Regions from separate parts of the Homo sapiens genome. Here region 1 is linked to region 2. The links are contacts of gene promoters, found by promoter capture Hi-C in human tissues and cell types (Jung and others, 2019). All regions are on one chromosome and are shown on one strand. Each heading gives the region's core, a stretch centred on a gene start or on the middle of the fragment in contact. The rest is flanking DNA. Distances are from core to core; before and after follow the strand shown. Region 1 overlaps NUBPL (NUBP iron-sulfur cluster assembly factor, mitochondrial). Region 2 holds the start of AKAP6 (A-kinase anchoring protein 6).

Region 1 (6,544 bases), core at 232-2,731, 760 kb before region 2:
TAAACATATATGTTTAGGCAACCGTATTGAGATAAGAGCCAGTAATATGGTTTTTTTCCTAGTGATTTTAATGACAGCACTTAGTTACCCTAGAAAAAGGACCCTGTCTTCCTTAAGGAAGGAAACGGAAAATTCAATGGATGGGAAGGTAGATAAATTTGTAGGTGTGGACCTCTTTTAATTTGGTTATCATTGCAGCCAAAGCTTTGAGTCTTATAGATAATGTGAAGTAACTATGTAATAAGGGATCCAAGGATGAAAAAAACAGTTAACTCATTTCCTGTTTAGAAAAAAAAAGTGCAGCTCGCTGCCAGCACTTATTTAACTTTACATAAACACGCCCTTCGAGGCTGAACCAAATCTGACTGATTTTCAATGTGAAAATAAAATATAAAAACTCTTCTTGGAGTTATTTCTAAACAGAACTAACATTAGAATTCTCTGAATCATCAGAATTGTCTATTTCAGAAAAATTGGATTCATCAAATGAATCTTCGGCCAACAACTGTTTGAGGATGATATTACCATCACACTCAGGAATGCTACGTTTTCTAGGATTTGACATTTTCAGTGATTGAGAATTACTATATTTTGTAAATTGAAATGCTGCTACTAAAAATAGAATGCTATAAATAGAATGATGTCTTTTGTTTCCAAAGTTGATATACTAGAGTGATGTGAAAATAATAATAAAAGCAAGATATTTCATGGAGTGGCAAGATCTAATAAGATAAGGTTGTAGGCCTAGGGGAAACAGGTCCAGGAAGCAATTCATTTTACTTTTCATGTTGTACTTAGTAATATCTGAAGTGGATTGCGTAAGCCCTGGGGAGATTTGCAAGACAGTCCATTGGGATGTGGGCAGAACATTTTTCTTTTCTATTTGAATTAATTTTTATTTTAATATTTGTTTGTATATACCTTATATATGGTATTAGTATAGTAGCTCTAATATAATGTATAAACAAATATATTAACATATTGAGGATGTATGCCCAAATACCTTTTAAAAAACTGATTGGGGTACATGATCAGAAAAGTTTGAATGTCACTGGTCTAGGCTAAAGGAATTTCTGGGCTGGACCATATGCCTAGTTCAAAAGAAGACTACCTCTACCTTGTAGATTGAGTTTTTTTTGTTTTTGTTTTTGTTTTTGTTTTTTAAGATCTCGATCTGTTGCCCAGGCTGGAGTGCAGTGGTGTGATCTCAGCTCACTGCAACCTCCGCCTCCCGGGTTCAAGTGATTCTCATGCCTCATCCTCCTGAGCAGCTGGGATTACAGGTGCCCGCCACAACACCCAGCTAATTTTTGTATTTTTAATAGAGATGGGGTTTCACCATATTGGTCAGGCTGGTCTGAAACTCCTGACCTCAAGTGATCCACCCACTTCTGCCTCCCAAAGTGCTGGAGTTACAGGTGTGAGCCACCATGCCTGGCCTGCATTGAGGTTTTAAAAGCATTATAGGAATAGGGTGTAGATTTTTCCTGCTTTTTCCTTGCCTTTTATACTTTCCTTTGAGGATGTGGATGGGTAGTATTGCAGAGCAAAATTTGGGGATCATGTGTACTATGCATATAAATATTGCAACCCATGGTGTGCCTGAGCCAGTGCATACTGGCTTGTGACAGCTGATTGTTAAATTTTCGGTGAATTTTGCAGACCAACTCGTATCATGTTGTTAGCTTGAAATAGGCCCATGATGGGAATATTTAAACCATGGAAATTGGCAAACACTGAAAATCAAGCCCACTACCCCAAGCCAGTTGTTAGACCTTAATGGTACCCACTGATCTTATATATTGACAATCTTATTTTTTGATTTTTCTTTTTTCTCTTTCTTAAAAACATCCTTATTATGGATCTCATTCTTTTACGGCAAAAATTTGATGCACAGTTTGGAAGAGCACTGAGACTGGGAGAGGGAAACTTAAAGACCATCAGAAACCATTGATAAGCTCTGTGAGATTCCTAAGTCAGTTCATTTCAGTTCATTTTAGTTCAGCAAACATTTATTGAGCACCTCTAACACTCATTGCCAGACACCGGCAGAAAGTAAAGAAGAATAAACATATACTGTGGAAGCTTATAGCCTGCTAAGATTACATTCACAAATGTTTAGTCTATATAAATATGTTGTATATTTATATAAGTGTATGTCTGTGTTTATGTGTCTATATTTTTTTGGTATATAGTTGAAATTGGTTTAATAGTTTCTTTTGTGAGAAAGTTTAATTAAAGCAACATTTAATAAGGTTTTATTAATATTGCTTCATAACAGAGTAGACACCAGTGTACTCTTAAAGGTTTTATAATCTGATAAGGACAAAAGGAAGACAAATGTTTTAAAATGATGAGATATATTCAGTGTCAAATATAGTAGTAAATCTGCCCAAGATGAGTAGCTTTTATTCCAGAGTAAAGCAGTATTGTTTTAAGTAGAGCATTTTCATGAACATAATTATATTTGATTCTCACAGAAACCTGTAATGCAATCCACATAGTATTTATCAGTTTTACAGTCTTTATTGATTCTCCCCTAATATCCTTGCCACATTTCATCAGCAAGCAAATATCCCTTTTCCTATCTCTACAATATTTTTCCAGTATGTTCCCATTGTTCTATTTCCACTGTTCCTATTTTAATTAAGGCACGTGCTACTTTTGGGTCATTCATTCATTTATACCTCAAACAATTATAGAGTGCCTACTCTGTCCCAAGTGCTGTGTTAGTTCTGAAGATACAAAAATGAATGAGACACAGAATCCCTGCCTTTGAGGAACTCATAGACTAGCATCCCACTGCAATGACCTTTTACCTGCCCGTACTTAGTTAAATCCTTCCAGTACATGATGCCAGACTTCTCTCACTATTGAAATCACATACTCCCTTGCTCAGAGTCATAGCTGGATGCTTTTGCTGATATTCAATATCCTCTGCCATCTGGCTTCAATCTACCTTTCTGGGTTTATCTTTAGCTATTCTTCTAAATGGCTTCTATGCTCTAGCTAATCTGGGTTACTTGCCAAAGCCAGTCTAGGCTGGATATACTATTCTTGATAGCTTACAGTTATTCTTCTACTTGTCTACTGGAATGTTTGTGTTACCTTTCACCAGCTTTATGTGTCCTATCTTTCAGGCTTCCTTATATGGCTGTGCTGGTTATATCCTGCACAAGGATGCTTGTTGAGGGGATTGAGTGATGATAGAAATTCAGGCTACCCTCCTCTTGATGTGCACCTCTTGTTCTGTTGTTTATGATCTGTCAAAAAAAAAAAAAAGATGTGCACCCATGGGCTGCTTTGTAATTCACACAAAGGCACTGTGTGAGCTAGCCTTGCTCAGAAGGGCAGCTCAGCAGCTCATTGAAGTGTTCCCTGAATTCCTGCCAAGTGAGTGTCTTCTTCTTTTTTTTTTTTTCTCACTCTGTTGCCCAGGCTGGAGTGCAGTGGCATGATCTCGGCTCACTGCAACCTCTGCCTCCTGGGTTCAAGTGATTCTCCTGCCTCAGCCTCCCAAGTAGCTGGGATTACAGGCAAGCACCACCATGCCTGGCTAATTTTTGAATTTTTTGTAGAGACGGGGTTTCATCATGTTGGCCAGGCTGGTCTCGAACTCCTGACCTCAGGTGATCTGCCCACCTCGGCCTCCCAAAGTGCTGGGATTACAGGCGTGAGCCACTGTGCCTGGCCTGGCCCTTTCTTCATCTTTTGAAATCCAGTAACACTGTTGATTTGTATTATTATTGCACTCATGCAGCCATTCTGATAAGTTTTATAATAGGAAATAACTAACTTTCATGGAGCATTCATTATGTGTCAAGCACTGTTATATGTGCTTTCCATGGACTATTTTAATCTTCATGACATGGTTCTTAGTTCATTTACTCTTCACAGCAACGTTATGGGAATAAGTACTATTGTGATCCCCACTGTAGTTGAGGAAGCAGAAACACCTATAGGTTAAGTAATTTGCCTCAAGTCACCCAGAAAGTAAATGGCAGAGCTAAGGTTCGAATGCCAACCTAGATCCTGTGCTCTTAACGTACTTGGTGTATTGCTCCTATTTTAGCTAGATTCTTTTTTTTTTTAATTTTTTTTGTGATGGAGTCTTGCTGTGTCACCCAGGCTGGAGTACAGTGGTGCAATCTTGGCTCACTGCAATCTCCGCCTCCCGGGTTCACACCATTCCCCTGCCTCAGCCTCCCGAGTAGCTGGGACTACAGGTACCCGCCACCACACCCATCTAATTTTTTGTATTTTTAGTAGAGACAGGGTTTCACTGTGTTAGCCAGGATGGTCTTGATCTCCTGACCTCATGATCCGCCTGCTTCGGCCTCCCAAAGTTCTGGGATTACCGGCGTGAGCCACTGTGCCTGGCCTAGCTAGATTCTTATGATTAAGAACTAGGTTGTCTTTATTCTTGGCTACCCTCAGCAGCTAGCGCAATGCCTTATGACTTAGAAAATACATGGTAAATGTTTGCTATACGTATGATTGTACAGGCAGATTTGAAAGTATTAAGTGTAAAGTTTCGTTTTACTTTATTTTTTGTGAGAAGTGGTATGGGATGGAGGTGTTTGTTGCGACTTAGTGGCCTACACACTGTTCTTTTCCTGCTTCTTAAAAGATGACGTATGGTCATGCTTTACTTTATGATGGGGGTACCTTCTCAGAAATGCATCATTAGGCGACTTCATTTTTGTATGAACTGCGTAGAGTGTACTTAAACAAAGCTAGATAGTATAGCCTACTGTACACCTAAGCTATATGGTATAACCTATTTGTCCTAGGCTACAAACCTGTATAGCATGTTACTGTACTGAATACTGTAGACGTTTGTAACACAATGGTAAGTATTTATGTATCTAAACAAAGAAAAGATACAGTAAAAATATAGTATAAAAGATACAAAATGGTACCCCTGCATAGGGCACTTACCATGATTAGAGCTTGCAGGACTGATAGTTGTTCTGGGTGAGTCAGTGAGTGGTGAGTGAATGTGAAGGCCTAGGGCATTAATGTACACTTTTGTACAAGTAGCACAGTAGGTTTGTTTACACCAACATCACCATAAACACGTGAATCATGTGTTGTGCTGTGATGTTATGATGGCTGTGCTGTCACTAGGCAATGGGAATCTTTTAGCTCCATTATAATCTTATGTCACCACCGTTGTATATGCAGTCCATTGTTGACTGAAATGTTGTTATGGGGCATATGTCTGTATTCCATGATTCTACTTGGCCCTCTTCTCATTTTATACTCTACCTAGTGATCTCAGCTTTTCCCACTGCTCTGGTTACTAGTCACGTGCCTTTACTCCAGATGCATCACCAGCTTGCATATCTCTCCTGGGTACTAGTCTGGTCTGTCTGGTTTTCTATGGTAGATGTGTATTTGAATGCTTTATAAGCATTTCAGACTCAGCATGTGTAAAACCAAACTCTTCATCCCTGTGACTGTCTTTGTCTCATGGAAGTCTGTCTACCTATCTATGTTTTTTTGGTGGAATATAGCTGAAAGAATCATACAGTTACTTCCATTCCCAAATCAATTACCTGTTCCTGCTGCTTCTGCCACTTAAAGTTTTATAGACTGTGTCCTGTTATTTCATTCCTTAATGCCACTGCTTTATTTGGATCCATATTGTGGATCTTCTGTGATGACTTCTTTTACTATTATTCCAGCATTAGGTTATTCTTGTTCTCTATTTTCTCTGCTATGGTGCCTTGAGGAAAGGATGAACACTTTCTATATTATTTTATAAAGTTTGTTTACTATCTCCTCTGCTAGTCTGTGAATATTTAGGGGACAATAATTTTGGTTTTATTCCTTTTTTTAATCCTTGGTGCCTTGTCCAGTAATGGAACATAGTAGGTTCTTGATAAATGTTGGTAGTGACTGTGGAGCATGTTAAGTGAAGAGTGGCCACAAATGAATGAATGAGTGAGTGAATAAATAAATAAAATATACACAGCAAATTCCAAGTGTTGGATAAGGTGCCTATAGTTTTGTTCAATACATATTATGCTTTATTTTTCACTGAGCAAATGAAGTAATTAAAATCTGAGATAATGTGTTTGAAGCGCTTAGCACAGTGGCTGACCTATCATAAGTTTGAAATAAATTTTTAGTATTGCTAGCTAAATAAAAGCTTTTAAGTAATATTGCAAAATAAATCAGTGCACATCTTATGTACTCAAAAAAAATTTTTTTTTTTTTGAGACAGAGTCTTACTCTGTCACCCAGGCTGGAGTGCAAGTGGTACGATCTCGGCTCACTGTAACCTCTGTCTCCCGGGTTCAGGGGATTCTCGTACCTCAGCCTCCTGAGTAGCTGGGAGTACAGGTGTGTGCCACCATGTTCAGTTAATTTTTTGTAGTTTTTTAGAGACAAGCTTTTGCCATGTTTGCCAGGCTGGTCTTGAACTCCTGACCTCAAGAGATCTGCCCGCCTCGGCCTCCCAAAGTGCTGGGATTACAGGTGTAAGCCACTGCGCCTGGCCTACTCGATTCTTTCCTTCTTTTTTTTTTTTTTTTTT
Region 2 (7,165 bases), core at 4,288-6,787:
TCTTAAACTGTCACCAGGGGGCCAGATAGAATAGCTTTGGACACTGTATAGATTGTTCCATGGATTACCACAAGACTCCAGAGAAGAGGAATGCCTGATGCTGCTCTGTTGGCAAACTCTCTGAGTAGGCTGGTGCCAAATGTTGACTGTGATAGTCTTATACACCTGAACGTTCAGTTGAGCTTCAGAAGACTCAGTGAAGGTATTGCAGACACATAGGTAAAATGCAGCCTGAAGCAAGGATCATATTCCTGATCTCATGATGTGGCAGAACTGGATAACTATGCATTTTAGCTGTTTCCTTTTCTCTCATGGCACAAAGCTAAATTCTATTTTCCAGCTTATCTTGCAATAGGTATGGCCATTTGACCAAGTTCTAACCAGTGGAATGTGGGGTGGAAGTGAAGAAGGGTACTTCCAGACCTAGCCCATGAAAACCTCCCCTATACCATCTCCCATCTTTCCTCAATTGGTCAACTTATGCCCAGGAATGTAAGGCATTAGAGGAAGGTGAAACCTCAAGAGAGAGGTCTTGAATAACCACATAGAAGGTCATCTGCAGTCAGGAATATTCAGTTAGAGTTCAAATGAATAAGACATACACAACTATATTTAGCCAGAGTAATTTAGCAGCTTAGCTGTGAAATCCATTAGTACTTCCTTAACTAACAGACACATTCCTCAGATCTACAAATTTTCTCATTGTATACCAAGAGATGCAGGCCTGCTGCATTTTCAGAAATGGCTTTAAGATTTTTTAAAACCCTAGCATGCAAACACAAGATGTATGTTTACATCATGAGTTAATGATTTGGAAATAATACTAATTTGCTTTTGAAATAATAAGAATTTGGAATACAACTTTGTCTTTGTTCATATTTTGCTGCTATAACAATATCTAACACTGAGTAATCTATATACAAAGAAGTTTATTTGTTCTGGAGGCTGGAAGTCCAAGATCAAGGGGTTGCATCTGGTGATGACCTTCTTGCTGAATCATAACATTGTGGAAGAGATCACATGGTGAGAGGGTGAGAATGCAGAGATGGAAAAAGGGGGCTGAACTCCTGCAGTCACTAAATTACTCCTATGATAGTGGTATTAGTCTATTCACGATGGCTCCACCTCTTAAGTATCATCACAAGGGCAATTAAGTTTCAACATGAGCCTATAGTTCCAGCTACTTGGGAAGCTGAGGCAGGAGGATTCATTGAGCTCAGGAGTTTGAATCCAGTCTGGGCAGCATATTGAGATGCCTCCTCTTAAACAAACAAATAAACAAACAAACAAACAAAACCAAACCCAGAAAACCAAACCCATGAATTTTGGAGGGAACACTCAAACTATAGCCAATGCCTACTTACAAATAGGAAAAAAATGACCAGGAGGAAACATTTCTATAAATGTTGCTGTCTGCAAATGATACTACCAGATTTCTGTCTTGTCAGTTCAGGATGGCAGAGAAAGATTGGAGGCAGACTGAGTTGTGCTGAAGGTGAGAGAAGTTTTATTTTTTCCTTCTTCTGCAGCCGCAGGCTGAATTGGAGGTTTAGTGGTGTTCTAGCTCATTGCTGTTTACAGTCATATTTACTATGTTGCAGATGGACACCCAATGGAACATTAGTCTATGAAAAAAGGATTCTGTGATTAAATATAAATTAGGAAAATACTGCATACTATATTTCTACAGGAGAGTCTCAATGCATATTAGCAGATTGAAAACTCTTAGAAAATCTGCAACCTATTTAATAAATGCTGATGGGAAAACTGGCTAGCTACATGCAGAAAACAGAAACCGGACCCCTTTCTTATACCTTATACAAAAATGAATTCAAGATGAATTAAAGACTTAAAACCATGAAAACCCTAGAAGAAAACCTAGGCAATACCATTCAGGACACAGGCATGGGCAAAGACTTACTGATTAAAGCACCAAAAGCAATTGCAACGAAAGCCAAAATTGATAAATGGGATCTAATCAAACTAAAGAGCTTCTGCACAGCAAAAGAAACTATCATCAGAGTGAACAGGCAACCTACAGAATGGGAGAAAATGTTTGCAGTCTACCCATCTGACAAAGGTCTAATATCCAGAATCTATAAGGGACTTAAACAAATTTACAAGAATAAAACAACCTCATCAAAAAGTGGGCAAAGGATATGAACAGACACTTCTCAAAAGAAGACATTTATGTGGCCAAAAAACATATGAAAGAAAAGCTCATCATCACTGGTCATTAGAGAAGTGCAAATCAAAACCACAATGAGATACCACCTCACGCCAGTTAGAATGGCAATTATTAAAAAGTCAGGAAACAACACATGCTGGAGAGCCTGTGGAGAAATAGGAACGCTTTTACATTGTTTTGGGGAGTGTAGATTAGTTCAACCATTGTGGAAGACAGTGTGGCGATTCCTCAAGGATCTAGAACCAGAAATAGTATTTGACCTAGCAATCCCATTACTGGGTATATACCCAAAGGATTATAAATCATTCTACTATAAAGACACATGCACATGTATGTTTATTGCAGCACTATTTACAATAGCAAAGACTTGGAACCAACCCAAATGCCCATCGATGATAGTCTGGATAAAGAAAATGTTGCACATGTACACCATGGAATACTATGCAGCCATAAAAAAGAATGAAGCTGGAAGCCATCATTCTCATCAGACTAACACAGGAACAGGAAATCAAACACTGCATGTTATCACTCATAAATGGGATTTGAACAATGAGACCACATGGACACAGGGAGGGGAACACCATACACCAGGGCCCTTCGGGGGGTTGTGGGCAAGGTGAGGGAGAGCATTAGGACAAATAGCGAATTCATGCAGGGCTTACAGCCTAGATGATGGGTTGATAGGTGCAGCAAACCACCATGGCACATGTATACCTATGTAACAAACCTGCATGTTCTGCACATGTATCCCAGGACTTAAAGTAATATAAAATAAAAAAAGAAAGTCTGCAATAAAGGAACATGTTTTTAACACTGTCACTTTATCATAAATAATGATATATAATATAATCTTGTTAGAAAATTTATATTTTATTAAATTATAATTTTATCTATAAATGGATAATTTGTTCAGAATAAACTACCCCAAAATCTTGGTGGTGTTTGTTTCTCACTCATTGCAGCCCAGTGTAGGTCAATAGGTAGTTGGGAGAGGATGGTTGAGCTCCATGCAGTCATTCAGGGACCCAGGCTCCATCCACAATGTGTGGCCATTATCTTTCTGGGCTTCAGAGTTCCACTGGATTCTTTGCATCCAGCTAGCAGGACAGGAAAACATGAAGAAGAGACACTTGGTCTTAGCCACCTTTGGAGTTGATGGTTTCCACTTCTACTTCCGTTTCATTGGTGAGTGCCATTTTGTGGGCAAGCAATTTAGCTAGTCCAGGTTGCTAAAAGTTTGACCTGGCCTCAGGTTTGATGAGCCATCCATTTCTTCCCATCAAATGATTGACTTGCTTCTGGCAAAAAAGATTAACAAGATTCTTACCATCTTGAGAAGCCATATTCAAATCTGGAACACCTGCTCCCACCCTGTCCTCTCCTCTTTATAGCATGTGGATTTCAGCTCTGGAAAGACTAATCTTGTTCTGTAATAGGTCCATGTCTCTTTATCTTCTCCAGAGACTGAAGGGTTCTTCAGAGGTATCTTAAAGAGTCAGCTTACAGCAAATGAGGTTGGAGGCAGTGGTTGAGAATGGCTCATCAGTCTGGGCTCTGGGCTTCTTATCTTGCCTCAACCAAGGCAGTCCAGCTTTGATCTGTATCATTAAAAGAAAGGTTATATTACTAATGAAAAACCTGAAAACTATGGTTATTAGCTAAATCAATCATCTCTGCAGATGAAAAACTTGAGGCCCCAAGAAGTTAATCAATTGGCCTGATATCACACAGATGCTCTAGGAGGACCTGACATTTACAGTTGGGTTTCCTGACTCTCAGATCTGTACTCTTTGTACTGGGGTAGCTGCCTGCTACTTCTCCCCTTGTGTGTGGCATGTGGTCTGAGGTCTAAGATAAAGGGAGGGAGTCAGGCTCTGCTGATGCCACAAAGGACCTAAGCAGGCAGATTCACCTCCTGCTTTTGGTCTCTTAATTCCTCTCTAGATGAAGCAAGAACAAGTCTGTCTTCCCATCTAGGGCAGGGTTGCTCTGTGCGAGGCTGATGGTGCACGCTGCTGGGATATTGGCACTTCTCAGGCATTTTATTAGCTCCTGTTTACAGAGACACTGCCTGAATTCCTTCTGCCACTCATCCCACACCGCCTATGCTGGTGGTTAACAGTGCCATTTTAAAATCTCAAGCAGGAGGAGACAACATAATTGTCTCATGTTTTAAGCTTTTGGAATGTTGTTCTTTTTCAGAGTTGTGAAGACGGAGTGGATACAGGTCAACTTGATTCTGCTTTTCTCTATCAATGGCCTGCAAATATTAAATATGCAAAACATAGGCTGCTCTGTCCATATCTCCTTCTCCCCAGTTCTCACCACATGACGTTGATTTCTGCTCAGGACTGGAAAGAAGTGATTGCTTTAGATTTGCTTTTCTTTTACCAACTGGAGAAATGCCTTACCGTGTCTTGTTTAAATGTGGCTTTTCACACAGTTCCAGCTTTTGGGGTTGGGGAGGGGCACAAATAATCTGTGTGGTAGGCAGTTTTATTGTTCAGAAAAGAAGAAAACAGACCCCAATGTTTGGAATGCCAACGATTTAGGAAGTTTCTAGCAGGTCTGCTACTTGTTCCAACCACTAGGTTTGATCCCAGAAAAGACTCACATGCGTTTTGGCCATGAGAAGGAGGGGTTCCCTGCAGGCCAAAGGAAGGGTCAGTAGAAGTTGAGGGTGGTGTGTTGTGCCCCTCTAGATTCCAAACTTCCCTTTGCTGCCTATCTGATGACCAGGTGAAAGCTGGGTTTATTCTGCATGGGAAGGTTCTGTGGGTTGGTGTTCATCAGGGAAAATAACCAGGACAGACTTCATTGGCCAAGGGTTTGCCCATGTTTTGAGAATTAAAACTTGTTTACTTGAGAGTTAGAGTCATTTGGTCAGCTGTTTATATTCCATTTTTAATTATTTTTGTGCTCGCTGTTTTGTTCTTTTGGTCTTTGACAGATGAGCAAAAATTCTTTTTAATAACTTTTAAAAAGCTATCCCAGTGCTGACCAGGGAGGAAAAAGTGATCAAATTGTCTAATAAGGAAACATTGTACATTTCAGTTTTTATTTGCTTAGTACTAATTCTATTTTCTCCTCCCACCTTTTTTTTCTAAATGTATAACAACAAAGGGGGAGATAATTTTTGTTTTTTCCAAAATGCTTTCAGGGAAATCCCTTTTAAACCTATGGATTTTAGTCCAATGAGGAATCCTCTTCCTTTGGTCTAAATTTTGCATATCGTCTGTTTCTTACAGGGCTTCCGTATTGTCTCAGGCTCCACTGGAAATGCAGCAAGGATTCCTAGCACATCCCAGTTGCCATAGCAACAGCAGTCTTTCCCATAATGAGCTGCATCATCTGAACTGATGTCACAGCATCATGCAGCAGGTCAAACAAGGCATCTCCTAGTATTGCATCCTACAGATGTGCTGTAAACATCAAAAGAAGACGGTGGGATCAGGAGATGGTGAGTGTTAAATGTCTGGGCCTTAATTGCACGGCTGTTTTGTTGGTTAGTCGGTGTCTGCTAAGGCGGAGATTGGGGGATGTTGTCTCTGCTTAAAATGGACTGGGGAAAGAAGGGCTGTTTTACCTAAATCGTTTTTCAGGCTGCCGGGTTAAGACAAAGGCCTGTAAGAGTCATATAGGAATTAAAATATGTAGAATTATTCTTGCTCCAGCTCTGTCTGTTATTTTTAAGTGTTCTTACAGAATTTTTCATAAACATAAGATGATTTTTCAATTGCAAAACCCCAGATAAGCTTTAAAATGAGTAGTTAACAGTATTTAAGCATTGTAAAAATATAGATTTCTTTTTGGGAGGCAGAGCTAATTGGCCCCCTCTTTGCTCTTGTGAATTATGAAATATTCAGTGATTTGCAGTATGAAATTCATTATTTACCTCGGTTGGGTTTCAGTTTCTTCATGGCAAGGAACAAATGCTGAATAAGCATTTGACATAACCCTGATGTGAAAGGGGATCTCTTGCATATTCAAGACAGAATTTATTAAAAGCATAAAAACCTAAACCAAATGAAATTATTTGAGCCTTTTGATCTATATGGTAGTTCTTCAACCCATGTCCTTCAGAGTTAGTTGAAAGACTGCCACATATTTTTCCATCTCTAGCTAGTCTCTGAAATAGCTGGAGTTGTTTGCAGGCTGACTTGTAACTGAGAAAGGAACAAGTCTCCTCTCTGCGGCAGTTGCAGTGAAGGGTAACCCTGGGAGAGCCTCTGAAGTGGCAGTGGTGTTGCCATCCCTTGCTTAACTTTAACAAAAATCTGGGTATGATGAATAAATATCAGGGTCCTCAGTGGTTGTAGGGATTACAGACCTCTGGACTCAGTCATAACCTCAACTCAATTCCAAAACTCTAAACACGTATCATTTTCATTTCAACTCCTAGCTCTGTTTTTAGGCATCTTTATTATTATTATTATTTTCTAAAAAATTAGTCTGACAGTGTCAGATAAGGAGCAGAATGTTGCCTTTTGTTTTGGGAAATGAAATGGATTTCCCTGGTACAGCTGATTGCTACTAGGGGAGAGAAAGGAGGAGGCACATGTCAGTTCAATTGATCAATATGTCCACTTAGAATCAGGGAGTGGTCTTGTGGCTTAATGCTGCCAAATTGATAGTTTTTACTCAAAAAGTCTTACACGAAAGAATGGCAACCATTGAATTCCTCTTCTTTTAGTCTGTTTATTGGGGCTAAAGAGATATATCATGGAAAGCAGGAAAAGCAATACCTTTAGCTAGCTTGGAGTGATTTTTTTTTTTTTTTTTTTTTTTTTTTTTTGCACAGAGTTAAGTATGCTAGTCCCATTAGGCACCAGCCAGAGGAAAGGCCTCAGGTTTTAATTTGTTTGTTTATACCACATCACGCACATGCTTGCTACTCTCAGTCCTTTAAGCTTATGTTTCTGACATGCAGCTGTATAGGATGGGAGAGGTCAGCTCAGCCTGGCTTTATCGCAAGCA

Evidence for each region. Contacts are between HindIII fragments. The study calls those that stand out against the background at their distance.
Region 1: a fragment that was not itself captured here is called in contact with the fragment with the promoter of AKAP6 in region 2 in 2 of the 25 tissues and cell types used here (dorsolateral prefrontal cortex and hippocampus).

What each region holds. Positions count from the first base shown.
Region 1 is chr14:31,568,057-31,574,600 of GRCh38, forward strand. All of the region lies in intron 3 of NUBPL (NUBP iron-sulfur cluster assembly factor, mitochondrial), which reads left to right. Among named protein-coding and RNA genes, the nearest start is that of NUBPL, 9.9 kb to the left of the region's middle. The HindIII fragment of the contact is 5,279 bases long and covers 1-4,121 here.
Region 2 is chr14:32,323,761-32,330,925 of GRCh38, forward strand. It overlaps AKAP6 (A-kinase anchoring protein 6), which reads left to right and starts at 5,538. Exons shown (of 14, transcript NM_004274.5): 1 at 5,538-5,648. The HindIII fragment of the contact is 5,497 bases long and covers 1,024-6,520 here.